3 separate regions of the Homo sapiens genome follow, and regions 1 and 3 are each linked to region 2. The links are contacts of gene promoters, found by promoter capture Hi-C in human tissues and cell types (Jung and others, 2019). All regions are on one chromosome and are shown on one strand. The core of a region is centred on a gene start or on the middle of the fragment in contact, and the rest is flanking DNA. Distances in the headings are between cores, read along the strand shown. Region 1 holds the start of TRP-AGG2-4 (tRNA-Pro (anticodon AGG) 2-4). Region 2 holds the start of LRRC32 (leucine rich repeat containing 32). Region 3 overlaps GVQW3 (GVQW motif containing 3).

Region 1 (2,700 bases), core at 192-2,691, 440 kb after region 2:
GAACACGAAATGGGACCTGGCACATTCGAAGAGGTCGGATCGTCGATTGAAAACGAGCAAGCGGTTTTTGCACCCTGGCTGCTATCTAAAGAATTCTTCCAGCTCGATAAGTTCTGTATTTAGAGAACGGAGATGCAGGAAAAGGAAGGAGATGCGGAAAAAGGAAGGGAAAGAAAATGAGGGCTCGTCCGGGATTTGAACCCGGGACCTCTCGCACCCTAAGCGAGAATCATACCCCTAGACCAACGAGCCGTCGCTCGTAAGAGTTTTCGTTTCGCTTTGTAAGTAGAATAGGAGGCACCCTAGAGCCTGCGCCTTCCCGTCCCGGCCGCACAGGACCCACCAATGGCGTGTGCGCTTAGGGCTCGCCTCGGATTACCAATCCGGTATCCGCACAGTGGGACCCCGAGACTGGCTCTGTCGCCGGCGAGCCCTGGATCTGGACGCAGCGAGAACGCAATCAGTCCGCGCTGCAGAGGGGAAATGTGCCTTTCTGCAGATGCAGGGACCACGAGTTTACACTGGACCTGGGAGCTGGGGCGGGACGCGCAGAACTGCAGACCAGGGGCTGGGGGCGGCGGGCTGGGATCCTGGGCAGGAGAATTCTCTCTGAACCATGTGTGGAGCTCCCTAACGCGCCCGCGTTCCAAACATCACATCATCATCATCGTCATCATGACTGCGCAGCCTGGGTCTTGGGGTTCCTGGATGTCTAGCTTTGTGGGAGGGTAACTGACATTGTGAGGCTTTGGCCTGACATTTCGGTCAGGGCTGGGTCAGATGTGCAGTTTCTCGGTTTAGCTACCGAATCCTGGGCGGAACCCACCGACTCTGGTTCACCGAATGGGCCTCCCAGCACGTGGGGCGCCTGGCACGGTTTCCCGTGCTTCGCCTCTGCGTCCACGGTCCATGGGTTCTAGGCTCCCCGAGAAGCCTCTGTGGGGAACAGGGGTGCCAGACCCACTCCGAGAAACGGGTTCCATGGAGCTCTTCCACCTCGTGACTCAGTGTCCTTGGGACACGTAGCCAATGTGTTCAGCATGCCCCCCTGGTGAAAACGGGGTCACAAGGTCTGCCTTCTTGCCTGCCAGAGAGAATTGGGAGCTCCCCACCACCGCGCCCTGTCCCCCGTAGGAGAGCGGAAGGTAGTGGCTGTGCTGGCCTCCATCACAAGGCTACTAGCAGTGCAGAGCCAGCGGTGCAGATCAGTCCAGCCAATTTCCGTTGCGCTCTCTCTCCCTCCCCACCCCTTTCCACCCCCCACACACCCTGACTTCAAGATGAGGAAACTGAGACTGTGACGCCCTGGAAGGACTTTTGCCCAGTGGCCCTTTTCCAAACTCCTTTCAGCTATGTCCTGCGCCTTCAGGAGCTGGCTGGAGCCTCACGTTTCCTTATTCCCAGGTCTGAGGATGTGCGGGCAGGAAGAAATACCTTCAGTCAGTCGCTGGAAGCCTTTGTAAAGCTTCTTTCACTCCACAACACACTTCCACTGGCGCCTGCTCTGCCCCACCCCCGGGCTGGGCCCTGGGGACACTGATGAGTCAACCCTGCCTCCTGAACCCCCTGCCCAGTGGTTGCCACACTGGCTGCACCCTCTGCCTAGCCCAAGGCTGTGGACTGGTCTGCAAGGAGCTCAGTCTGGGCCCTGGCGGACTGTGGTTACTGCTAAATGAGGCTATGGCCTGGACACACACCCAGGACCTTACATCCTCTGCCCGGGCCTTCTGTGCCTCCAGACAGGCCTTCCCCATGGACAGTCCCACACCCACAGTCTCTTCAAACCCTGCGGTGGCTCCACCCTGGGAGCAATGGCTGAGCTCTTTACCTGCCACCTGGGCTTTCTGAGGCCTGACCCCTCCCCACTCACCTCTCTTCAGGCCCTCCTCACTCCGTGAACACTCCAGCCATGGCTCCAGTGGAAGCTGCTCATTCCAGCTGGGGCTGCCCCCAGCTTCCTGCACATTCCAGGCCTTGCGGTTTCTGCACCACCACCTCCACCTCCAGGCAGACACCTCTCCAAGTGCCCCCAGCCCCTGCACTCCCTGTTGCCTGGATGCCTGACCCCTGCACACATCTGTGTCTCTACCCACAAGAGTGTGAGGGAGGGTTCCCTGAGGAGTGGCCATGTCAGCACAGGGCCCAATGCAGATGACCTGTAAAGCGTTTGTTGAATGAGTGGTACTTTGTCTTTCTGTAAAACCCAAAGCCAAAAAAAGACACCGTAACAGCTCAAAGCCTGGCGTGAGTCAGAGGTTCAAGGCTTGCTTGCCCCCTCCATTGGCACAAAATGCCTGTCAGCCAAGAAACTTCTTAGGGAGGTGGTGGGATTCTTTGGTCCCTCTGCCAGAGCTGGGACCCTTGGAGATGACCTCACTAGCCAGTGGGGTAGCAGGGCAGGAAGGGCTCCAGTAGGTGAGAAGGTGACTTTCCAACCAGAAAAGTTCTGGCTAAGAGGCCTGCGTGGAGCAAGTAGGCTCAAGAATGTCAGGGAGGCAGGGCACGGGGTGGCTCACGCCAAGGCGGGCAGATCACTTGAGGTCAGGAGTTTGAGACCAGCCTGGCCAACATGGCGAAACCCCATCTCTACTAAAACTACAAAATTAGCCAGGTGTGATGGCATGCCTTTAATCCCAGCTACTTGGGAGGCTGAGGCATGAGAATCGTTTGAACCTGGGAGGCGGAGATCGCGCCACTGCA
Region 2 (2,700 bases), core at 78-2,577:
TCAGGCCCCTATGGCACCTGCTATCATGGCTTGTCCTCTCTGGGTTGACCCCATCTCCCCAGATCCATCTCCACAGTGGACTGAACAGGGGTAAGAAAAGGCAGTAACTGTAGAGACTTCAGGGAATCCCGCTTCTGAGCCCAGCCTTACCCTGATTTGCCACAAGGCCCTGGGTGGTCACTTTCATGCATGTAAAATGGGGCACCCTGCCCCACTCTCAGGGCTGGTGACGATCAGGGAAGAGAAACACTGTGGAAGAGGCCCCTTCTACACTTGGAACCAGGACCTGGAGGACAGCCAGGGCCCCTCTCTTCTAGGGACCCGCATACTAGAGTCCACAGGCAGCAAGGCAGGGTACCTGTGATTTGGTAGGGTCAAGGCATCTAGAAGAGAGGTGGCTTTGGGAAAGATCTGCTTCAACCTCCAATCTAAATGACAATACCGCCACCCCATATTTGCACAGTACTTTAAAAATTCGGGCAAGATAATGCCCAAACTGAATCAGACTTAGCTTTATGAACAGATTGGGCTCAAATCACTGATTCTTATTAGCTGTGTTGACTTTGGACACGCCATTTAACCTTTTCTGAGCCTCAGGTTCCCCAGCTATAAATAGGGACCTTACTAGTCTCAGACAATTGGTTTTCATGTGTACACACTGCCCCCACCCCTAGCCTCAGCTTCTCCATCCGAAAACAGGACTTTGATGGTGCCGTTTCACAGGCTGTTGAAGGGTCCCGCAGATGATGGAGGAGTACGGGTCCAGACACTAGAGCACAATCCGGAGAGGAAAAGTGACCTGCCAGGACCCACCAGAGTGGACGGCTTGGTGCGGGGAACCCCCTCCGCGGCCGCCCCAGGGCCAGCGAAGGGTCATTTCCTTCCGCATTCAGCCCCGCCGTCACCTCGCCTGTTTGCCCCCGCGTTAAGTGCGGCGGCGCCAGCAGCTGGGAAATCGGGGCCAGGCCGGATTTCCTCTGTGGACCTGCGGCTCCTAGAGCCACCGCGCCCCCCTCCGGACCCCGCGGGGCCGCGAACTGCACGTGCGGCGGCCGCTGGGATGGGCCTCGCTCCCACGGCGCTTCCTCTGCAACCCCTCTCCCTCCCGCCCTCTCATCCCCCCACACTGGGCCCCCGCCCCTTCCCGGCCGAGGTCCCAGGGTGGTGAAGATGCTTCGCCGCCCCACCCCACTCCGCCCCCGCCGGCTCCGGATAAACCGAGGCACGGGGCCAGGCGCTAGGACCCCACGGCCTCGCCAGAGGGGGGCGTGGCGGGGCGGGCCGGCGGGAGAGGTATTTAAATTGCAGCCGGAGCGCGGGGGCTCCGGTGGGGCAGCTGAGCGGCCTGCTCCTCCTCGGGCCGTGACCCCGGGGTCTGGCGCGGGGTGGGACCCGGGGGCGGGTTTGCGCAAAATGTGCCGAGACTGCCCGGGAGAGGAGCTGCGGCCGCGCTGAGCCAGGTAGGAGCCGCCGGGCAGGCGAGGCTGGCCGGCCCTCGGGGGGCGCACTGTCGCGCGCCTCTAGCGAGCGCAAGGCGGGGGCTGGTCCCAAGGGACGCCCCCCAAACACTCCCCTCCCGCCATCCCCACTGCGCGCGTGGAGCCGGGGCTGACCCTCCCTCGGTCCCTGGGAGTTCCCCAGCGCTCCTGTCTTGGCGGATCTTTCCCGCAAAGGGGTGAGGCCGGCCTTCCCATTTGACAGCTGGGAAAACAATGGCCTGAAGACCGTGACTTGCCCAGGAACACACAGCTAGGCAAGGGCAAACCGGAATTTGAATTCAGGTTTCCTGCAACGCTCCGATCCCAGCCAGGCGTGGGGCTGCCCATCCCACAGCACTAGATGGCCTGCCCATTTCTCGTAGTGGGGTAGGGGGCACCCACCGCTCTCCAAGGGGCTCTGAACCCAGCCTTCTTCATGGGTGGTAAGATGTGAGGGGCCCCCACCCCCACGCCGAGCTGCCTGAAATTCCGCCATCACAGCCACATTCCTTTGGGTTAAGGTCTAATTCCCCCGTGGGATGCACATGTCTCCAGAACGAGGCTTGCCCTTAGTGATTCACTGCTTGACAGGAACGTCCGCAGCAGCTCTCCCAGGACCCCACTCTGCCAGTAAGTCAGCTGAGGCCGAGAGGAGGGAGAGAGGACCTCAGAGGCCAGACTGTGAGCTAGTCTGCCCTGCTCCTGCGTGTGAGGGGTCGTTGGCAGGGCTTAGGGAAGGAGACCTTGATTTGGTATAGTGGGAACATTTGCTTTGGAGACAGATGAACTGGATTCTGATCGTGACCCTGCTATTTTCTCCTTGTGTGACTTTGGGTAAGTCACTTCTCTGAGCCTCCTTTTCTTCATGGGCAAAAAAAAGACAGTTCTATTGGGGGCAGTCGGCTCAGCATGTGCTGGAGAAAACACAGTATTCAGGTCATGTAGAACTGGATAAATCCCAGCTCCAAAGCCCTTATGAGCTGGGTAACTCTGGGGGTAAGTCACTTCACTTTCCGGAAACTGTTTTCTCATCCGTAAAATGGGAATTACAGTAATTTCCTCAATAGGTGATTGTGAGAATTAAATGAGATGATATAGGTCAAGTGCTTAGAAGACTAACATCCTTAAATGTAGGGGTGGGCTTATTGTGGTAGTAGTCATTGCCCCCCGTACCCCTGCTCTTTCTCTCTCACTCTCTCTCTCTCTCTCACACACACACACA
Region 3 (2,700 bases), core at 184-2,683, 270 kb after region 2:
AGCTCTGATCAGCCCAGATAGCAGACTGCTAAAACTTCCAGGAATTTTGAGAATTGGTTGTTACACACAGTCATTTTCTTTTCTTTCTTTTTTTTTTTTTTTTGAGACACAGTCTCAGTCTATTACCCAGGCTAGAGTGCAGTGGTGCCATCTTGGCTCACTACAACCTCTGCCTCCTGGGTTCAAGGGATTCTCGTACCTCAGCCTCCCGAGTAGCTGAGACTACAGGCACAGGCCACCACACCAGGCTACTTTTCATACTTTTGTAGAGATGGGGTTTCACCATGTTGGCCAGGCTGGTCTCAAAACTCCTGACCTCAGATGATCCACCCGCCTCAGCCTCCCAAAGTGCTGGAATTACAGGCATAAGCCACTGCAACCGGCCCATTTTCAAACATTAAATTATGTAAACTTACAATTAAATGAATCACTTTAAATATAAAGGTCAAAAATCCTCACAATGCATGCCTTCTTAATTATTTTACCACATTATGCTATCAACCATGCAACTTTTATTTGTATCTCCTGTGTTTATACAGTAGACATACTATAGAATGGTGTACTACTCTGCATCTGTTCCCAGTTCTACATTCAATGATGCCACATTGGTAATTTGAATATTTACACTCTAGAAATTAACAAATGTTACAAATCAGAGATCCCCAACCCTACCAAGTGAAAACTGGTGTTAAATATTTACCAGCATACCAGTGAATACAAGAAATAATGAATTACTTATGAATACCGCTCCTAGGTGTATACCTAAGGGAATTAAAAACGTATGTTCACAAAAACCTTGTACATGAGCATTCATAGCAGTATTCTGCATAATAGCCAAAAGCCGAAAACAACCTAAATGTCCATCAACTGATAAATAAATAGAATGTGGTAGATTCACACAATGGAATGTTATTCAGCCATAAGAAGGAATGAAGGGGCTGAGTGTGGTGGCTCATGCCTGTAATCCCAGCACTTTGGGAGGCCAAGGTGGGCAGATCATGAGGTCAAGAGATTGAGACCATCCTGGCCAACATGGTGAAATCCCGTCTCTACTAAAAATACAAAAATTAGCTGGGCGTGGTGGTGCGCACCTGTAGTCCCAGCTACTCGGGAGGCTAAGGCAGGAGAATCACTTGAACCCTGGAGGTGGAGGTTGTGGTGAGCTGAGATCACCATTGCACTCTAGCATGGGCAACAAGAGCGAAACTCCATCTCAAAAAAAAAAAAAAAAAAAAGGAATAAATGACTGACCCATGCTCCAACGTGGATGAACCTTAAAAACATTAGGCTAAGTGAAAGAAGCCAGACATAAAAGGCTACATATTATGATTCCATTTATATGAAATCTCCAAAATAGGCAAATCCATAGAAACAGAAAGTATATGAGTGGTTGCCAGGGGATTAAAGAAAATGAGGAAACTGCTAATGGGTAGGGGGTTTCCTTGTGGAATGCTGTAATCTGTTCTAAAATTAGTGGTGATGGTTCTACAATTTTGTAAATATACTAACGATTTTATTGGATATGAATTATATTTCAGTAAAAAGAGAGAAAGATAGGCAACGAAGCCGGTATGCAGGTTTATAAATCTAAATAAACACTGGCTGTTAAAACATCTAATTTGAGCCCAGGCATGGTGGCTCATGCCTGTAATCTCAGCACTTTAGGAGGCCAAGGTGGGATGACTGCTTGGCCCCAGGAGTTCGAGACCAGCCTGGGCAATGTGATGAAACTCTATCCCTACAAAAAAATACAAAATTAGCTGGGTGTGGTGGCAGGCACCTGCAGTCCCAGCTACTTCGGGGGCTGTGGTGGGAGGATCCCTTGAGCCCGGGAAGCGTAGTTTGCAGTGAGCTGAGATTGTGCCACTGTACTCCAGCCTGGGCAACAGGAGTGAGACCCTGTCTCAAAAAATAATAATAATAATAAAATAATAATAATAATAATAGCAGCACAGAAATGTTAAAACGATGGGAAAATATACTAGGCAAATGCTAAGCAAAATAATGCAATATTGACAGCTTTTAAGCCAAAAATAATTACTAGGGATAAAGAATCATATGATAATGATAATGATAAAAGGAAAAGTTCACCAGGAAGATATATCCCAGAACCTCTGAGTACCACCTGGCAACATTGCTTCCAAATATACAAAGCCCCCTCAAGTCTTCAGCATGTATGTAAGGAAACTACCAGAGGCCAGAGAAAGAACTGCCTAAAAGGATTAGAAGGAACCATTTTTGGAGATCACACAGGTCCACTTCCTATTCCTAACATCTAGAGTGGCAAGACATATTTCATAAGGTTTCGGGTGCCCTCAACACTGGGGCAAAATTAGCCCTAGACTAATATTACTCTGGTCTCATCTAACAAAGCTTAAAAGTAATAGCCAAAAGCTATTTCCAAAAATCAGTCAAATGAAACTGAGGGAGATAGGTAAAATTGATAGATAAGGTCATTAAAACTATTATCACTGTATTCCATGTGATCAATAACCTAAAGAAAAAATTGAGCTTGTTAAGTAGAGACATGGAAGATATCAAAAAGACCCAAATTCCAGTAGCAATACACTCACTGCCCATATCTTGCTTTCTAAACACCATTCTCCAATAAAAGGAACCAGGGCTAGACAGAAATCGAGAATAGAGAAATGGCTGGTCACAGGTGTGGAAGGCAAAAAACAAGATAATCTTGGAGCATAT

What was found. The method cuts DNA at HindIII sites, captures the fragments that hold promoters and counts their contacts. A contact is called where the count stands out against the background at its distance.
Region 1: a fragment that was not itself captured here is called in contact with the fragment with the promoter of LRRC32 in region 2 in 1 of the 25 tissues and cell types used here (lymphoblastoid cells).
Region 3: a fragment that was not itself captured here is called in contact with the fragment with the promoter of LRRC32 in region 2 in 1 of the 25 tissues and cell types used here (neural progenitor cells).

The regions. Positions count from the first base shown.
Region 1 is chr11:76,233,065-76,235,764 of GRCh38, reverse strand. TRP-AGG2-4 (tRNA-Pro (anticodon AGG) 2-4) reads right to left here and starts at 252; the gene lies at 181-252. RefSeq lists enhancers at 187-732, 733-1,279, 1,827-2,373. The HindIII fragment of the contact is 3,098 bases long and covers 1-2,700 here.
Region 2 is chr11:76,669,374-76,672,073 of GRCh38, reverse strand. It overlaps LRRC32 (leucine rich repeat containing 32), which reads left to right and starts at 1,327. Exons shown (of 3, transcript NM_001128922.2): 1 at 1,327-1,460. RefSeq lists silencers at 1,183-1,382, 1,443-1,572. The HindIII fragment of the contact is 10,955 bases long and covers 1-2,700 here.
Region 3 is chr11:76,395,538-76,398,237 of GRCh38, reverse strand. The region is part of intron 1 of GVQW3 (GVQW motif containing 3); the gene reads right to left. Among named protein-coding and RNA genes, the nearest start is that of GVQW3, 16 kb to the right of the region's middle. The HindIII fragment of the contact is 9,534 bases long and covers 1-2,700 here.